Linked DNA regions of Homo sapiens: region 2 is linked to region 1. Evidence: promoter capture Hi-C in 16 types of primary human blood cells and fetal thymus (Javierre and others, 2016). All regions are on one chromosome and are shown on one strand. The core of a region is centred on a gene start or on the middle of the fragment in contact, and the rest is flanking DNA. Distances in the headings are between cores, read along the strand shown. Region 1 holds the start of C6orf62 (chromosome 6 open reading frame 62). Region 2 overlaps GCNT2 (glucosaminyl (N-acetyl) transferase 2 (I blood group)).

Region 1 (2,700 bases), core at 30-2,529:
CCAGGTGGGGGCTGAGCGGCGGCAGCAGCGCGGGCGGTCCAGTCACGGTGCGCACTGCAGCGGGGATGGAGGGGCTCAGTTGGCTGGTGGTTTTCTCTTGACATGGCTCCTGCCCGTGCTACCAGCAGCGCCCCCGCCGCCGCCGCCTCTTCCGCCGCCGCCACCGCTCCGCCCGCAGGCTGCGGCTAGAGGGCCCAAACCCCGCCCTAGAGTCGGTCCGTGAGTCCCGGGCTCCGCGGGGACAGGGAGGGGATTTCCCCGTCACCCACCCCGCCCTAGCTGCCTCAATTCCACCCCCTGCCCCTCGGGAAACAACTAACGACCCCACCCTAAACAATCCAAACTCTGGAAACATGGTCTGTTCAACGTGAGAGAGAGCTAATCCGGGAACTTAATTTTTTGGGGGGAGGGTGGGTGGGCTTACTTTAGAAGTAATATTAACACAATTATTTTCTTTTTTTCCCCCACTGAACCTTCCCATTTACCCTCTCCCGCCCACTCCACCCGGGCGGGAATTGTTTCCACGATGAAATGAGTGAAAACCTGAGTGATCCTGTGTCTCCCGTGGTGCGAGTGAGTCGCTGCCGCTGAAGGCAAGGGGTGGGGGTGGGACCTGCGGGGGTGGAAGGCAGGTGGTCTCCGGGCACCGCCTGGGATTTGGGAGAAGAACCCGCCACCTTTGCCTCGGCAATGCTCACAAGAAGATAAATCGCACTCCCCACCATTTTGAACGGGGGCAGATCCACAGGGAAGTCTCCCTTGGGGAATGTAGGACTAGTTGCAGGCTGGGGGTGTTGGGAACCCGGGCATTAATCAGGTCTAACCACAGAGCCGGAATAATTAATACCGTATTATATACCCCTTTTCCTTCTGCCGTCATGATTCTCCTTGGCAGCAGCGTTAGCAGCCGCCTGAGGGTGAAAATGTGGGTGATGGGGAAGTTGGTAATGACTCCGCTGTTTTTTCTCATGGCTCCTTTGGGCCACAGCTGCCCGCCCCCGGTATACACTGTAGTTGATTGCAGGGAAACCCTGTACCTCTCCCTTTCCTTCTCTACCGATTTTGCACTTTTCTCTATGCTCACCACCAAGTGTAATCAATAACAAGCACTGACAATACATAGCAATAGTGAAATCTGAAATAACTAAGAATTAGGTACTACAGCCATGGAGCTGGCTGGGTAAAATCTAATTGGATATTTCAGTTTCATTCACCTACCCTGTTTTGGTGTTTGGTTTTGGTTTTGGTTTTGGTGAGTTTTTTTTTTTTTTTTTTTTGGAAAGCAAGGATCACACTTCCCCCTCCCTGTTCCTTAATCCCTTTTCTAAAAAGGGGGGAAAATCCGGATGGATTTTAGGGATTGGTCTGGTGTCAGCTGTGTTTTATTGCACACCTAAATCCTGATTATAGGCTTTTCATTTCTCCGCAAAGCCTTTATTTTGGCAGTTAAGCCAAATGTGTTTTCCAGAAAGTTAGTTATTTTCTCCTCTTTCTTTCCTTTCTTTCCTCCCTTTTTCCCGTCTGACCCCAAACGTTATTGTCCAAACATGACTGGACAGCAGCTTTTGTTTCTTGACCCTGTAATATGACAGTCTGCTAATATTGACAGAAGGTGCAGTTTTTGGGTTATAGTCGTGATTTTCGCTAATCAATCATATTAGCAGGAAAAAAAATGACTTGTTTCTGTTGTACTTGAGTCTTAAGAAAAAGTGCCCATAGTTTAGTGACAATTTCCAAAGGCTTTAGTACCACCTGTATTTCAAAATGGGGGACCCAAACTCCCGGAAGAAACAAGCTCTGAACAGACTACGTGCTCAGCTTAGAAAGAAAAAAGAATCTCTAGCTGACCAGTTTGACTTCAAGATGTATATTGCCTTTGTATTCAAGGAGAAGGTAATTTAAAGTTCTTAATGGTGAATTAGCACAAGTAATTTTTGTAAGTGTATATTATTTGTTACTCTTAAATTATTATGAATATTAGGTTAAAGAGTGGTTGAAAAAAAGTCTGCTTTGTATGCTCTGTTTTTTCACCCTTAGGGGTGATTCTGTGAATTGAGCAGTTGCAGCATGCGAAAAGACCCTTGAGCGTTCTTTGGTTTGGAAATAAATTTGAGTCTGAAGCTTAGTAGTAGTATACACTGAGTTGACATGGGGTGGGCAAGATTACAAAATTTTATATGGAGTTAACATGGGAAACCTTATGATGGAATTTAAAGATTATCTAATGTAGAGTATAAATAAGATGGTTGAAAGTGTGAAATTGTAATCAGACTGTTTATATGCTAAAGTTTATCCTGTTTCTTAAACTGCGTAATGTAGGTAACCTTTTCTCTTACATTTAATGAAGTAGAATACACCTTTTAGGAGCAATTAAATACTGAAATGGTTAATTTGTGTTTAGAAGTGTGATTTTCTTTTTTACTTAGAGTTCATTTTGCCTTGTATAGAAGTACAGTTTTTAAAAACTCAAAATGACCTAGAGGAAGTTTCATTTTTAGGGGCGGTGGAGGTCTTAATCAGAATTAGTTCCGCAGTTAAATAGCAAACAGTAAGTTGTGAGTAGTCAAGGATGGGATGATAAGAGCAGTATTTTTTGCAACTTAAAATGAACATTTTCTTAAATTATCAGCAAGGCTTATTTGACCAAAGATGAGGTTATGAATGTAAGGAAGTGCTACTTGGATTTTGGTGCTTAAATTG
Region 2 (2,700 bases), core at 71-2,570, about 14 Mb after region 1:
TTTGTTTGACTCTTACCTCATTCTTGGCCTAGTTCTATCCCTCCAGACATTGCAGACATAGAAGCATCTTGAATTATTTGCCTGCTCTTCGAATTTACAACTCACTGGATTTAGTTGCAGGGTAACGAACACTTGTATTTTGTGCTCTGCTGCAAGTACAAGCAAAGTTCATACGTCTTTACTTGTACCTTACCTGTAATGCTAAGACGGTCCCTTGATTTTGAGCTCTGGAATATTTATGATTCTGTAAAATAGTATCTTTGACAATGCTAGACATTTAAAAAAAGAATTAATATGAACCTATTTCCTTTTTCATCAACCCAGTGCCAGCTGGTGCATTTTATTTTGGTAGGCACATGGGACACGCTGGTCTTCCAGACCCTCCAGCTTTCCCAATGCCCTTGTACAATCTATCAGTAATCACTCTCCTCAATTCTGGGCTCTAGGCTCTTGCGTTTGTGTGATATAATGGGAGGAGATGGTAATCAGGGAGTGACCAAAAGGACGCGAGATTGTTCATCCCAGGTTGAATTTCAGATCAAAATTAATACCCCCCAATTCTAAGTCGGAGGCACTGATCAGGTGGGATAAATAAAGAGTTCTGAACAAATTGGGAACCAGCAAAGACTTATAGTTTGGTTGCTCAATAACTGGCAGGGTGTATATTATGTTCAATCACTAATTGCTTATTTCTCCATAACACATACTCTTATAAATTCTCACTCTCCAGGATGTAAACTAATTTTCATTGCACTAAGACACTGCACTTAGAGTTTAATCTCAATAACTGACTGTAGAAAGAGAAGCAGAAAAAAAGGGGTTCCTTTCTACAGACAAGAATCCCATCATCCTCACCTTAATTATTCATGGACCATATGATGCCCAAAGCACTTTTCACATATTCATTTTACCATGACATCACCTGTGTGCCCAAATTAGAAACCGGGGGGGTGGGCCGATGGAAACTTTCTCAGTGTCTGTGAAAGCCTGATGCAGTCTCAGAGGAAGAACAGCTTGGATTAAACTGGTTTTTAATCTGAAGGGCAACACATTTTGTCCTTTTTCTTTTCTTTCTTTCCTTTTCTTTTTTTTGGGGGGTGGGGGACAGAGTTTTGCTTTTGTGACTCAGGCTGGAGTGCAACGGCACAATCTCAGCTCATTGCAACCTCGGCCTCCCAGGTTCAAGTGATTCTCCTGCCTCAGCCTCCCAAGTAGCTGGGCTTACAGGTATGCACCACCATGCCTGGCTAATTTTTGTATCATTTTGTCCTTTTTCAAAAAGACAACCTTTTCCTGTCCTCCTCTCTGCCTGCTCTTTCTTATTTATGTGTTTTCTCTTGACAAGTTCGGTACCCTGCTTTATCCTCATCACTATTTCTTTTTAAGCATAGGTTATAACCACAGGCTTCCAGCAACAGGGCTTAAATAGTATGGTTAAAAAGAGCCCTGGATTGAGTTAGAGACCAGCCTGACCAACATGGAGAAACCCTGTCTCTACTGAAAATACAAAATTAGCCGGGCGTGGTGGCGCATGCCTGTTAATTCCAGCTACTCAGGAGGCTGAGGCAGGAGAATCGCTTGAACCCCGGGAGGCGAAGGTTGCGGTGAGCCGAGATCGTGCCATCGCACTCCAGCCCAGGCAACAAGAGCGAAACTCCGTCTAAAAAAAAAAAAAAAAAGCCCTGGATTATGTGTCAGAAAGTTTCCGTGGACCAAGGCCACTCTTAACAGGCTTGGAGCCGTTGAATAAGTCATTTGATTTATAATCACAGCTTCCTCTTGGAGTGAATTTGAGAAAACAACACCCGTTTGTTGAAAAACAAACCAAGATCCAGCATGGATCTCGCAGGCTGTAAGGGGCTCTGCTGTTACTTAGAGCCTCCAACTCCCAACTGTGGCTTCCTTCCTAGCCAGATCACCACACCTCTTAGTCTTGGTTTTTTTTTTTTTTTTTTTTTGAGACAGAGTCTCGCTCTGTCACCCAGGCTGGAGTGCAGTGGCGCGATCTCGGCTCACTGCAAGCTCCGCCTCCCGGGTTCAGGCCATTCTCCTGCCTCAGCCTCCCGAGTAGCTGGGACTACAGGCGCCCACCACCAAGCCCGGCTAATTTTTTTGTATTTTTAATAGAGACGGGGTTTCACCGTGTTAGCCAGGATGGTCTCGATCTCCTGACCTCGTGATCCGCCCACCCCGGCCTCCCAAAGTGCTGGGATTACAGGCATGAGCCACAGCGCCCGGCCTTGGTTTTTCAAGTCTAGAGTCAAGACAACAGCAATCTCCAGGCCATGCTGGGAGGATTCTGGAGGTAGGGCACCTAACGTGCTCAGCTCAGGGCTTCTAGAGAAGTCAGAGCTAATTCCAGACCTGGATGGAAAGCTGTGGGGAAGAAGAGGCTACGAGGGGGAAATGAAGTGGGTTGTGATCGTTTAACAAAAAATAGCTGGGAAAAAAAGTAATAGGAAACTATAAGAGAAAGCTGGTCTTTTTTTTTTTTTTTTTCTTTTGAGACGGAGTTTCGCTCTTGTTGCCCCGTCTGCAGTGTAATGACGCCATCCCGGCTCACTGAAGCCTCTGCCTCCCGGGTTTAAGCAATTCTCCTGCCTCAGCCTCCCGAGCAGCTGGGGTTACAGGCATGTGCCACCACACCCGGCTAATTTTTGTATTTTCTTTTTAGTAGAGATGGGGTTTCACCATGCTGGT

Evidence for each region. The method cuts DNA at HindIII sites, captures the fragments that hold promoters and counts their contacts. A CHiCAGO score of 5 or more calls a contact.
Region 2: a contact is called between a fragment that was not itself captured here and the fragment with the promoter of C6orf62 in region 1, in 1 of 17 cell types (M0 macrophages). The highest score is 6.5, in M0 macrophages.

What each region holds. Positions count from the first base shown.
Region 1 is chr6:24,717,733-24,720,432 of GRCh38, reverse strand. C6orf62 (chromosome 6 open reading frame 62) reads left to right here and starts at 1,279. Exons shown (of 5, transcript NM_030939.5): 1 at 1,279-1,893. The coding sequence starts at 1,765. RefSeq lists a silencer at 66-235 and an enhancer at 1-598. The HindIII fragment of the contact is 3,349 bases long and covers 1-2,123 here.
Region 2 is chr6:10,523,231-10,525,930 of GRCh38, reverse strand. The region is part of intron 1 of GCNT2 (glucosaminyl (N-acetyl) transferase 2 (I blood group)); the gene reads right to left. Among named protein-coding and RNA genes, the nearest start is that of GCNT2, 3.2 kb to the right of the region's middle. The HindIII fragment of the contact is 3,884 bases long and covers 1-2,700 here.